Regions from separate parts of the Homo sapiens genome. Here region 2 is linked to region 1. The links are contacts of gene promoters, found by promoter capture Hi-C in blood cells and fetal thymus (Javierre and others, 2016). All regions are on one chromosome and are shown on one strand. The core of a region is centred on a gene start or on the middle of the fragment in contact, and the rest is flanking DNA. Distances in the headings are between cores, read along the strand shown.

What was found. The method cuts DNA at HindIII sites, captures the fragments that hold promoters and counts their contacts. A CHiCAGO score of 5 or more calls a contact.
Region 2: a fragment that was not itself captured here is called in contact with the fragment with the promoter of ISL2 in region 1 in 2 of 17 cell types (total B cells and naive B cells); the score reaches 7.4 in total B cells.

Annotation. Positions count from the first base shown.
Region 1 is chr15:76,331,945-76,338,746 of GRCh38, reverse strand. It overlaps ISL2 (ISL LIM homeobox 2), which reads right to left and starts at 1,974. Exons shown (of 6, transcript NM_145805.3): 1 at 1,806-1,974; 2 at 780-969; 3 at 233-495. The coding sequence starts at 1,863. RefSeq lists enhancers at 654-1,465, 1,891-1,940, 1,634-2,133, 1,945-2,239. The HindIII fragment of the contact is 603 bases long and covers 1,464-2,066 here.
Region 2 is chr15:74,120,598-74,127,419 of GRCh38, reverse strand. It overlaps LOC283731 (a long non-coding RNA gene), which reads left to right. Exons shown (of 3, transcript NR_152622.1): 3 at 1-1,047. It also overlaps a transcript of ISLR2 not described here. Among named protein-coding and RNA genes, the nearest start is that of ISLR2, 6.6 kb to the left of the region's middle. RefSeq lists enhancers at 4,456-4,505, 4,211-4,817. The HindIII fragment of the contact is 2,693 bases long and covers 3,646-6,338 here.

The sequences.
Region 1 (6,802 bases), core at 725-3,224:
TGCACAATTCTCCGTGCTCACACACTCATACACACGCAGTTTCTCCCGAGCACACGAGAATACACACAGCCTTGTTCCCAGCACACAGTTCCGCACTGATACAGAAAAACACTATCCCGGCAGACGGAACCACACACAACTGACAACTTCTCGTTAGGGACACAAGCGTACCCCTACACACACGCACGCACATACACCCCGCTCACCCCGGCACAGGCCCCGGCGCGCTTACCGGGCAGATGCAGGCCGCGGGCGCCGGGAAGCGGGCCGGGGCTGCGCGGGCTGCCGGCCGCGGCGCGCTCGAGCAGGAGGCCGTGGTCGGCGCGGCAGAGCAGCTCGTGCTCCCGCAGCGAGAACTCGTCCCCAGGCAGCAGCTGGCGGCTGCACACGGAGCAGCGGAAGCACTCGATGTGGTACACGCTGTCCCGCGCCCTCATCACCAGGTCGCTGCTGCTGAAGCCCACCTGGCACTTGGCGCACTTGATGCCGAACAGCCTGCGGGCCCAAGGTGCGGCGGTGTCAGCGCTGGGCCTGCGGCCGCCCTCATCTCCCTGGCTGCTACGGCTCCGGCGCGCGCCCAGGACACTTTGTGGCCACCAGGAGACTGCGGTGACCCGCCTGCGGGCATTCCCGGGCCCGGGGGAGCGCTGCGGCACCCGTGCGGGATGCGGATGGCCTTCTCCCTGGGCAGGGCCGGGGCGCGCGGGCAGGCCGCCATCCCCAGTCCCGGCCCCGGCCCCTGCGCGCGGTGGCCCAGCCCGCGTTCCCGCCGGCCTCACCTGACATAGTCCCGCTTGCAGTAGGTCTTCCCGTCTCTCACGAAGCACGTGCACGTCTCGTCCAGGTACTGGCTGCACTCGGCACACTTGAGGCAGGCCGCGTGCCACTCGAGGTCGGGCGACACCCGCAGGATAAACTGGTCGTGGATCTGACTCCCGCAGCCCACGCACATGGCCGTCCCGGGCTTCTCTGCCGGGGAAGGGCGCGGGGCCGCGTCAGGCCTGACTGCCCGGACCCAGGCCGGCCTCGGCTACTCCAGCCCCAACCCAACCCGCTCGCTCTCTTGCTCTTTCTTTCAAGACTTGCGACCATAAGGAAAGATGATGAGCTCTCTAAAGGTCCAGGGCATTGGAAACGAAAAACCAGTATCTTGTGGATTGCTGAAGGTTTCTTCTGTCCCCCACCCCAAATATTTCGTTATTACATTCATTAATGACAGTCGTTTTGTCGACGTGTCTTGAAACTAAACGCAAACACGAAACTAAGAAGAGAGTAAATACACAGGCACTGCGGACGCCTGGATATCAACACCTAACGGTGCTGTCCTGGCATTTCCGCTCACACACTCCCACTCACAGCGGCTGCCTCCTATCCCAACACAGACACATCGTCTTTCGGCAGTCCCCGCTCATCCTCTCAGACATTTCTTAGTTTAAATATCCCAGAGCAAGCGAAAGAAAGCTTCCTAGCTTTGAAAAACCGAAAGGCAAACAAACAACAACCAAAAAAAAAAAAACCCACATCCCTAAATCAAACCTAATTGCCTTTGCGCAAAACAGAAGCAGATTTCGCAGCCCGAAGTCATCCTAGCCGGCTTGAGAAATAGTGTTTACTTATAAAATAAAACAACAGGATTCCCAAAGATAAGCAGTCCTGCAGGAGACATGCATTCGTTTTTCCTCTCCTAAACTATTCTGACAAATAGAAGCCACTTGTAGAATCCACTAAACATTTTTCTGCATTAGAAATTTTGCATATTAAGCATACACACACACCCCACCCCACACACACACAGAAATACTTACTCTTGGAATGATCACCCATAGCACCCAGAAAAGGATAATGAAAAATAATATCCACCATGCAGAAAAAGAGATGTGCGCAAAGTGTGCGGCCAGGGGCAGAAGGACGAGGGTCGCGCGCCCGGCCTCGGCTCTTTGCTAACTAACTCCTACTGCCCCGCGGAGTTGAAGGAGCGATTCCGCACCGGCCCGCACGCAGCATGACGTCAACACGCACTAGCCCCGGGCCGGAGCTGGGGGCGGGACCTGTGGCGTCACGAAGCTTCCCCAGAACTGCCGGGGATGCGGGGGAGGTGATGGGGATCCAGGGGCTGATGGGCGGGGTGGGTTGGGTTGGAGGCTGGGGGTGAAGGGAGATTGGCTGGGAGGAAGTGGGCCAACCCTGATTGGCCCGGAGTGAACAATGGAGTGCAGCCCCCCCACCTCCGAAACCTACAAGGATCCTCTCTCATGCCCCGGGCCTGGCAATCTGGACTGGACCTTGCGTCACCGCCGAGCTGGCTCCGCGGCCGTTACAACTCTGAGCTTCCTCTTGGACTTTCGGGGCGGTTTTCCCAGGCGCGCTGGAGCTGGGTGATGGATACCTGAGGGTGGAGATGGCTCTCCTTTAAGAGCTCCCTTCTTATATAAATTAAAAAAAAAAAAATTAAACCCACTCTCAGGACGAGAGAGCCGAGGACAAGGGGGATCCGTTTGGACGTGACCGTCATCGTCCAGCTGGTCACCTTTCTCCTCTCATGTGCCTTTGTTCTTCGGGTCCAAGCTAGAGAGAGTGTAGAGAATGACCACCTGGGTTCTGATAAACTCTATTTAGACTTTCCTATCCACACACACGTAGAAAACTTTAGATTGGGGCATTACGTGGGTTGAGCCAGAACCCAGATCCAAAAGCGCTCACCCGGGACTGGGACGGGTCCTGACTCCATCCTTGCTGCTGCTGCCGCTGCTGCTGCCCCTCCTCCCTCTCCTCCACCACCACCTCCTCCTCCTGCTCCACTTCCTTTTTTTTGTTGTTTTGTTTTGCTTTTAATTTGTTGCTGTTGTTGTTTTAAATGTAACATGGACTTCCCCGCCCCCTCATTTTTCCCCCATCCAAATGGCATAGCTCCTTTTAGGAACACTGCTGGGGTCGATTGCGTGTCCAACTTCCAAAATAAAAGATTTTTCTAAACTCTTGTCCTTCATTAACAAACCCACTGCAATGCAAATAATCAGAAACGAACGTAAGGCGCTGGGTAATTTACAGTGGTATCTGCGAGGCGGCGGCTCGTTGGTCCTGAGAAAATCTGAGAGCTCTGAGCACAGTCCAGGCATTCTTTCAAAGAAATCGCTGTGGGTTTTGTTTGAAAGGGTTCAAAGACCGGCCCATGAATTATAAATAACATTTATCCAACCATGGTGTCTGTTCTTGTTTTCCCATTAAAAGGAGTACCAAGAACTTGGTGTGCGCCTGGGTGGGGCGCGAGGTGAAACGCCTGCGGATAAAGTGTCTCCACCGCCATTCCAGACCCTGCCCAGACCTTCGGGCTTGTGGGCCTGAGGGCGCGGTCGCTACTGCCGTTCTACTAAGAGCATGAGGTTGGTTGGCGTCGAAACGGATGCAGCCGAGGGCGCAGGCCGAGGCTTTGCAGAAGGCTAGGGCGAGGCCCCGAGTGCACGCTAACATTATTCGACCATGGTCCACGGTGAACGTTCCTCACCGGCCCCGCGCTGGGGCGAGCGCTTTAAGCCTCGTCCAGTAGCGTCCGGCTTTTGAGCTCCGCCTCCACCTTTAGGAGGTCTAGTCTTCTCACCGGTCCGGCTTTTTTTTTTTTTTTTTTTTTTTTTTTTTTGAGATAGACTCTTGCTGTGCCGCCCAGGCTGGAGTGTAATGGTGCGATCTCGGCTCACTGCAACCTCCGCCTCCCGGGTTCAAGCGATTCTCCTGCCTCAGCCTCCTGAGTAGCTGAGATTGCAGGCGAGCGCCACCACGCCCCGCTAATTTTTGTATTTTTAGTAGAAACCGGGTTTCACCATGTTTGTCAGGCTGGTCTCGAACTCCTGACCTCGTGATCCGCCCACCTCGGCTTCCCACAGTGCTGGGATTACAGGCGTGAGCCACCGCGCCGGGCCACCGGACCGGCTCTTGTTACAGTTTACCACCCGTTGGCCAATAGGCCATTTCTTGCGTCTTTAGTCAACAGTCCCCCAAAGAGCGCTCACCCTGAGTGTGTGCGGGCAGGTCAGGGGTTGGGGGATGCTGCGTTTGAATGAATGTGTTTATGTAAATGGGGGACAAGAGCGAGGGGGTGGGTATCTGTGCCTGAGGCTGTGCCAGGACACCTGTGTGACCTCAGGCATCTTATTTTAATTCTCCTTCCCTCAGTTTCCTCATCTGTAAAATGGGGGTATAATAATTGTAGCTATCTCTATTACATAATAATTAAATAAACTGTTCTCTGGAAAGGGCTTAGAGCAATACCTAGCACAGAGTAAGTGCTCCATATGTGTTAATTATGACAGTTATGACTGTGGCTGTATCTTTATGTTGGGAGCCTCTGCCCACCCTGCCTGCGTGTGTCTGGATGGGGAGGGGAGGTCTAAGTATGTCTCAGTATGTGTCATCTGATGATTTCTTTGTGATTTCGATGTGTGCTTGCTGTGTGTGTGTCTGCTGTGTAGATGGGGTTTGGAGATGTGTGGTCTGTGCATAGACTTTGTGTACAGGTTATATCTGTGAATGTGGGTGCACAGTCAGAACTGGGAGGGGACTCGGTGTGTGTGTCTGCATGTGGAGTGAGGAGGTGCGTCTGGCCCAATGGCCCTACCCTTAGGTGACCCTGGACTAGGCCTGGCTCCCAGCACCTACTAGCTCTTGCTCGCCAGGCCAGGAGCAAGCACATCTATAATTCAGGGGTTCAGACAGCTGGCCAGGAGGGGGCAGCCCCAGGCTGGAATCGTAGTCCCAGCTTTTAACCGTCTCCTGCCCAGAGAAACTCTTCCTTCCCGTCCAGAAAAACCTGTCCTTTGAAACTTCACTAGGGAGGTGGGGATTGGAGAGGGTCACCCCTCCTGGGATGCTAGGAAGCCAGGTCAAAACAAATATTTGTTCAGGGCCACCATGTGCAAAGTCCTTGTTGTTAGCCTATTAGGTCTTAAAAGTAATGCCATGTGGTGAGTAGTATTGGGCCCCTCCAATCCTCGAGGAAACTGAGGCTCAGAGAGGGGAAGTTACTGCCTCAGGTCACAGGTTAAATCATTGCTGGCATTGAACCCAGGTCTATCTGGCTCCATCTTGCTTGCTTTTTTCACTGTGCCATTGAAGAGCCACATGAGTGTAGCTCCATCATTCACCCATTTCACATCTCTGGAGCTGTAAAACCAGGGATCCATTTCAAAATCACTCCATGTGTGACTTCTGGTCACAGCCACCCCTGAGAGACCAGCACTGACATGGGAGAAGAAAACACCTGCACCTGCTGGGCACGGCCACAGGCACCATTGATGTGGCCCTACCCTGGTTCTCTGCCTCCTGGCTGCTCCCTTCTCAGGTATGGAGGGGCCACACACTCTCCACATCCCAGGCTGGCATGCAGGAGACCTGGGTGCCTCCTATCCTGGGTCTTAGATCACTTTCTCCTTATCAGGAATGGCAGCTTGAGCTCCATAGCTATGCTTTATCCCATAAAACTAGCCTGTACTGGGGAGAGTTCAGAAGCACAGAGAAGTCTCCCTGATTATTTTCTCCCCAAAACCTCCTCTACCACATCACTTACAAAGGCACAGCCCCATGCACAATGTCCAGCCAACACAGAGGAAGCTGTTGCTAGTGTGGGAGCATCAGTCCTACTGTGAATATCAGGAAGGAAACTGAGGCCTGGTGACCTGTTACCCAGCATGTGATGGAGATGGAGCCGGAAGCCAGGTCCCCTAACCCAGGCCAGACCTCTTCCTGCTGGACTCCCTCTGGATGATCTTCTGCTGTCCAGGGCTGAGACCTTGCTGCCCAGCTTAAGTCACTGGACCAGGCTTCTCCTCTTGCTCCAGGCTCCATCCCCCTCCATTCTCCTTCTGCCCCACTCCCAAAGGCTTTTACTCTTCTCCAAAGGTAGTTGGAGATGTTGAATACAGCAGGCCAGAGACAGCCTCAGCATCCACATCTTCACCCACCACAGGCATCTGAGAACTTGCTTTTGAGATAGGGATGGAGCACCATGTTTCAAAGAAGAAACTAAGGCCTGGGGGCAGGAAGAAACTTGGCAAGTCAAGGTCAGGCTTCAGGCTTCCTGACATCCAAGACCCATGCTCTCTCCCCAGCTTTGCCTGCCTCCCCAACCCCAGATTCCCTTTGAGCAAACAGGTACCCACAGGCACTGCTGGGCCCCTCTCACTCCTTCCTGAGTCCCCTTCTCTCTTCCCTAAGTTACTGAGCACGTGCTGTAGCTGGGGCTCTGGGCTAAGCAGCCGTATGAGGTCTCATTAAAGTGCCCACCAATCTCCTGAGCAGGAATGGCCACATAATTTGCAGATCCCATTGCAAAATAAAAATGCACGACCCTTTGTTTAAAAAATTATTAAGAATTTCAGGCCGGGCGCGATGGCTCACACCTGTAATCCCAGCACTTTGGGAGGCCGAGGTGGGCAGATCACAAGGTCAGGAGATCGAGACCATCCTGGCTAACATGGTGAAACCCTGTCTCTACTAAAAATACAAAAAAATTAGCCGGGCGTGGTGGTGGGCGCCTGTAGTCCCAGCTACTCGGGAGGCTGAGGCAGGAGAATGGCGTGAATCTGGGAGGCGGAGCTTGCAGTGAGCCGAGATTGCGCCACTGAACTCGAGCCTGGGCGACACAGCGAGACTCAGTCTCAAAAAAAAAAAAAAAAAAAGGGAGGGGGGAGGGATAGCATTAGGAGATATACCTAATGTTAAATGACGAGTTAATGGGTGCAGCACACCAACATGGCACATGTATACATATGTAACTAACCTGCACGTTGTGCACATGTACCCTAAAACTTAA
Region 2 (6,822 bases), core at 3,743-6,242, 2.2 Mb after region 1:
TTCTTGAGCGACTAGTCCCTGGCACAAAACCTTCCTATACACCTCTCCCACTCTCCCTTCTCTCTGAGTCTTATGACTTTGTCAGGGGCCTATTAAAATAAATGTCTGAGATCTGGAAAAAAAAATCTGTTGGCGCTAACAGGGGCAAAGAAAACTGCAAAATTGGAAGTAATCGATGTTTGATTGAATGTTTAAGACATGCGACATTGTGCAAACGATTCTGTTGCAACTGCACTCAGAGTTGTACTTGCCCTTGTATTTTAATGTGGCACGCGGAGGATTTAATGGACTTGCCTAAAGATGTGGGAAGGGCCTCTGAGAATAAGAAAGCCGGGGCCCAGATGGGCATCAAACATCCCCAGCATAGCAGCCGGTTAAGGCTGCGGAGACCTTCCCCAAGGCTGCCCTCCAGTCAGAAGCCCCTGAACACTCACTACTTCCCATCTTTCAGCTTCTGCGCGCACAGACACACACACACACACACACACACACACACACACACACACACACACACACACACACAAATGTTCTCTCCAGCCCCACACCCTCAAGAAGCTGCTTTCCTTTTCTAATTTCCAGTCGAAAGATCACTCCTCAGGGAAGCCAGGCCCTGTTTATACTCCCTCCTCCGGCCTTTCCTTGTACAGGTTCTATGTAGTCGTCAGGCGGGCAGGTCCTAGCGTCAGACTCCATTATGTACTGACTGTGTGTCCTTAGCCAAGCTATTTAACCTCTCTGTGCCTCAAGAAAAAAAGGCATAAATAAGAGTACTGACCAGGCGCGGTGGCTCACACCTGTAATAATCCCAGCACTTTGGGAGGCCCAGGCGGGCGGATCACAAGGTCAGGAGTTCGAGACCAGCCTGACCAACATGGTGAAACCTCGTCTCTGCTAAAAATACAAAAATTAGCCGGGCGTGGTGGTGCATGCCTGTAATCCCAGCTACTCAGGAGGCTGAGGCAGGAGAATCTCGGGAGGCAGAGGTTGCAGTGAGCCGAGATAGTGCCACTGCATTCCGGCCTGGGCGACAGAGCGAGACTCTGTCTCAAAAAAAAAAAAAAAAAAAAAAAAATACCTATGCTTTTCGGTCACCTTGAGGATTAAATGAATCAATGTACGCAAAGCACTTAGTACCTGACACTTAGTGCTCAGTACTTGAGATACGTTTTTTATATAATAGCTGAATTAGCCATTATTATTGCCTTGCAGAGTGGGACACAAGTTTGATAAAAGGTTCTGCTGCACACACCCCTACAGGCTTGTGTCCTGCCTCCTCCACAGGGGAGCACCTTGGCTCTGCCCCCAGACCTCTTCACCACCACCACCCCCTTTGCACACACACACACCATGGGTATATGTAGAAACCAGATTTACTATTATTATTTGTAAAGGTTTCTAGTTTCAGATACTTAGACTGATGCTTGTCAGCATGCCTGTTTGCAAAGAGAGACCCGCAACTGCAGACTTGGTGGAAGGTTTTTAATTAAAACTACATTCTGTTTAAGTATTTATTGGACTTTGTGACTTTAATTATTTTCTAGGGAAAAACAAAAAAATCCACATTTGCCTATGAGAAGACTGTTGATTTCAGAGGAAAGTAGCAACCTGTTGCAGTTTGCTGGAGGCAACTGAGAGGAATTTTCTGAATGGTTCAAATGAAGCTCGACATTATTAATAATCTGGGATCCAGCCCATGACCCTCCTCCCAGCATTTTCATGAAATTAGCTTAACGTACTGGCAAGGCCTTTTATTGCCATCAAAATTAACAGCAGCTCTTCCAGTGGCAGCTCATGTAATTATCTGGGTCTGTGCTTGTCTCACTGAATAAGAGGAACTCCTGCCTGGAAGAGGCGATACTCCTGCATTCAAAGGGGAACATGGCTGAGCAAGATGGCTCATGCCTGTAATCCCAGCACTTTGGGATGCCAAGATAGAAGGAATATTTGAGCCCAGGAGTTTAAGACCAGCTTGGGCAACATAGTCAGACCTCATCTCTACATTTTTTTTAAATTAGTTGGGCGTGGTGGCACACAACTGTGGTCCCAGCTACTCTGGAGGGAGACTGAGACCAGAGGATCGCTTGAGCCCAGGAGGTCGAGGCAGCCATAAGCCATGATCACACCACTGCACTCCAGCCTGGGCAACAGAGTGAGACTCTGTCTCAAAACAAAAACAAAAACGAAAACAAAAAACAAAACAAAAAAACACCAAAAAACAAGTAAGGGGGGCGGGATGCAAAATGCTTGGCAATCCCACCCCAATTCAGGCAGGACTGGTTTCCCCAAGAGATTTTCTGAGGCAGCCAGCTCCTCCGTGGCAGGACTTGCCATGGTAAAGGGTAGGGCCGGGTGAGGCAGGGGAGTGGGGGCTGGGGATGATGTGTAATATTTCCATCGGCAAATAACAAGATTCCCACCCCCAAGGATGGAAAGTATTAAGTGTATCGTCTCACAAAGCAGGAAGCAAGGCTGGCTTCCCGGCTGTTGATTCAGCGGCTCAGTGACATCAGCAGTTGCAAGTTCTTTCATCTCTCCCCTCTGCCACCCTTAATAGGGCTTCCAGCCCAAGGACTGGGTCCCTTGGTGCCTTGGTGTCACTGGAGGGCTTCCGGAGCCACCAAGGAAACATACCTATTGTGTTTTTTGTTTTTTTTTCTTTTTAGATGGAGTCTCACTCTTGTTACTCAGGCTGAAGTGCGGTGGCACAATTTTGGCTCACTGCAACCTCCACTTCCTGGGTTCAAGTGATTCTCCTGCCTCGGCCTCCCGAGTTGCTTGGATTACAGGTGCGTGCCACCACACCCCGCTAGTTTTTGTATTTTTAGTAGAGACAGGGTTTCACCATGTTGGCTAGGCTGGTCTCAAACTCTTGACCTCAAGTGATCCTTCCGCCTCAGCCTCCCAAAGTGCTGAAAATTACAGGTGTAAGCCACTGTGCCCAGCCACAAACGTAATGTTAACAGACTAGTGGGTTAGAAAGACAGGCTTCTCTTTTCCGAAGCCACAGCCTCTCCCCTGGGTCTTGACACCTATTGTCATAGGACTGTTTATCTCTGAACCAGTCACTGGTGAAGGGGATGAAACTGATTGGTTCAGAATAATTATCTGGCCCTGATATGGCTATAGAGGAGTCAATCCCAAGGCTCACTACAAGCAAGAAATCCCTTTTAAATAGAAGGATTGGGGAATTGCATGTTCAGAGTAGCCTAATATTGTATCAAAATGAATTGAAATGAGAATGACCAGGATTATAATGGACCATACTAGATACTTCCTTATCTGGAGTTTAGACCAATCTATATCCACAGTCTGAGATCACAGTCAGGGTCAGGGCAGTGTGTGTGACCAACTTCAGGAAACTCTGGTAGGCATACAAACCAGAGGATTCTTTGCTTTCACAGAATTCTTGGATCGATTGATTTATTTTTATACTTATTTATTTATTTGGGCTGAGGATCAAACTGTATTGTCCAGCTGGCCTCAAATCCTGGGCTCAAGTGATCCTCCTGCCTCATCCTCCCAAGTAGCTGTGCCTAGAGGCACACATCGCACCCAGCTCTTTCACGGAATTCTTGAAAGGATAAAAATCTGTTCTTGGAAATGCCTGTGCTGGGATCCAAAGCTATTTTGGGAGCAGTGGAAGCTTCAGTCTTTAGTCGGATATTTATGAACAGGAGATGTTTATGAACTCAAAGATGTCCCTATATGACTTCACATCCTGAACATGTCTCCCAGTCCCATGGCAGAGAAGAGAGGCACTTTTACTGTTGAGGTGGAAAACAGGAGGAATAATTCTACCTTGGTCTTAGGAAAAATGTGGGGCAGTGCAAAGTGGGGCAGACCACACTGGGCTTGGAGCTCCACAACCTGAAAGCTCACTCCAGCTTCACAAACTCTCTAAGTGGTCTTAAGCAACTCCTTGCCCTCTCTCCTTCTAGGTTTCCACCCATGCAATGGTAGGGGAATGGGCTAGATGTGTGTCTTGAGGCCCTTGGGTGCTGTGGCCTTAGAAGAAGCCAGTTTGCAGGTTGAGTTGGGGCTTTTGGGCCGCAGGCTGCCATCTGACAGGGCTTCCTGCAGGAAGACACCCTCCTTGGGAGCCTGGGGTTGTGGCTTCCTCTCTTCCTCATGGCCCTTGGCAATTTCTGTGTCTCCCCTCCCATCACACTGCAACCCGCCTCCCGCCTCATCTCTTGAGGCCCGCTTGGGTCCCAGGAGCTAGCCCCTCCCCCAAACTGCTGTGCACTGCTCTGTGGGCAGAGGGAGTCTTCCTGCTTCAAAACACTTACCAAAGGCTCTTTCCATAGCAAGATTCAGGGGCGGTTGGGGCACTGCTATTTGAGGTTAAAATCTGATCACTGAATATTTTGGGAGCCTGGCACATTGACCAGGAAAGAACAAGGCTGCCACCCCTTCCTGCTCTGCAACTCTCAGTCCTCCATTCCGTGGGGCCATCACAGGACACAGAAAGGCCACAATAAACACACATTCAGAGAACCCCCCACCACCTCCTGTGGCCTCCTGCAGACCGCAGGAGGGCTGGCCCAGAGTCTCCTCCTCCTCCTCCATCCCCCAGACTCAAAGCTCCTGGGGTTGGGGGGCTGCGCAGGGCCTTCCCCTCCACTGTCCCCATCAAAGCCCAGAACAGCACAGGGAGGGCACTTGGTGGGCTGAAATAAAACTGACTTTTCCCTCAGACCTTCAGTCTCTTGCTTTCAATAGACTGTTTTCATTTACTCTTGAAAGTGGCTTCCCAGAAGCAGAGCTGAGACAATGTTTTGTGTGCAGGTGGCTGTTTAAAAAACTGCCCAAGCGAAAAACAACCAGAAGAGAGAAGGGGAAGTAGGAAAGGAAGAGGAAGAAGCTAAGCAAAGGTGTGATTTCAGGCACAGTCTCAATGTTGGACTGATCCCAGGAAGCTCCAGAATGAAAATGAATCCTGTTTGTCCCAATGAGAGGCAGGGAAGCTCACTTCCACAGATGCACAGCAGTCAGACATTGGCCAAGGGCTGCCCCTGGGGGATGGGACTCCCAAGCACTTTCCCCTCTCCTTGCCTGTAGGCAATCAGCTCTAGTAGCCTGGAAAGACTCTGTGAAGTCTGCACCCACCTTAGGGAGATGCAATGACAGCCTTCAAGGATCAGAGAGTCACCCAGCATCAGAGTTTGGGGCCTGGAGGTCCTCTATCCCTTTCACTTTACTGGGAGGGAGACAGAGGCCAAAGAGAGGTCACAGAGCAGTTGGGAATGGGAAATGTCCCCAGCCTATCTGGGCAGTCTGGGTCAAGGACGTGCCAAGCCTGGTGGCTGTGGGTGAGCTTGCTGATTAGGAGGCCCTTGAGGCTCTTGGGCAGGTGTGGCCTCGACAGTGGCAAGGGCAGCTGTCTCTGGGGTGGATGGGACAGGCGCCCCCACTTCAGGTCTCCTGCGTTAGTCCCCCGTACCCCCACTCCATTGCCCACGGGCACTAGAACAGAATCCCATCCATGTGTGGGAGAGACTGATGTTGTACCCTTGAGTTATCTATAATAGGATGCTGACCCCAAATCAGGCCCCATAGAGAGGGCATCTCATCAGGCAGCTGGCTGGGGCAGAGATCTGGAGGGAGGAGAACCCTCCCTGAGGTGGATCCTGGCATGTTGCAGAGATACCTGGAATTCTGTACCCAGGCAAGGCCAGTTCAAATGGCCAAGTCTGGGGGAAGCCAGGCACAATTCAGTGTAAGGGGGTCTAAAGTGGTAGATCAGGGGTTAGGGGACTGTAACTTCTCTTCACTGACTTCCTGTGAGACTTTGGAAGTCTTTCTCCCTTCTCAGCCTCAGTTTCCCCTCCTGTGCTGTGGGGCTCAATTTCCCTCCTTCCTGCCTCATCTTGGGGTTGGGTCTGTCACATTCTCACTCCTCAAGCCTGTCCCTACCAAATCCAAGCTGAGGAAGGGTGCCTCAGTGCAGCGCCTCCCAGGAAAAGATTGCTCAGGTGCTGTCCTCTTCTGTGTCCTCTTCAAAGTGCCCCAAATAGACTTTCCTGGGGAAGCCAGAGGAATCAGGCTATGAAGAGTGACCCCGTGCAGTGCAGCATCTGTGAATCCTGCAGCCCCATCTTCCTGCGTCCTTATCTCCAGACTCAGCTGGGAACTTGATGTATTTATTTGCCTCTCCCAGGGCCCCACTGTGTCCAACCCACATATCTTCCGGCTGTCTGGTAGCCCCGTGCAGGCAAGGAGGGAGGGAATTGCTATAAATCCCTCCAGCCTGCAGCCAGCAGGGTGACCCTGTCAGGTAGAGGAGACAATCAAGGTGGCTTGGAGAGATGGGGACAAAGGCACCAGGAGAAGAAGCTTGGGATAGAGTCACCTAGATACTAAATGGGCTGGAATCAGGGGAGAGGAGAGTGAGAGAGGAAGGGGAAGGGAAGAGGGATAGGGTGGGCAGGGGAGGAGAGAAAAAAGGAGAGAACAGAGGAAAGGAGAACAGAGGAGAGGAGAGGAAGGGCAGGAAGGGAAGAAGCAGACTGCTTTCTAGTGCATTCTGGGAGTCAGCACAATGCCTTCTGGTCTAGGGTGCTGGGTGTATAGAGTTATTTTTTAGTGTGTTGCCAATCACTAAATTTAGTACTTTCTATATGCTGTCTCATTCAATCCTCACAATTTGTGAAGTATGCATTATCACCCCCATTTGCATATGAGATCACAAAGGGTAAGCAGGTTGTCCAAGGTCACACAGCAAAGCTGGGATTTAAAGCCAGGTCCCTCCAAAGCCTATCTTTTAACTTCCACACACACACAGCTCCCTGTTCCCAAGCCGACTCTATGAGTGCACCACCG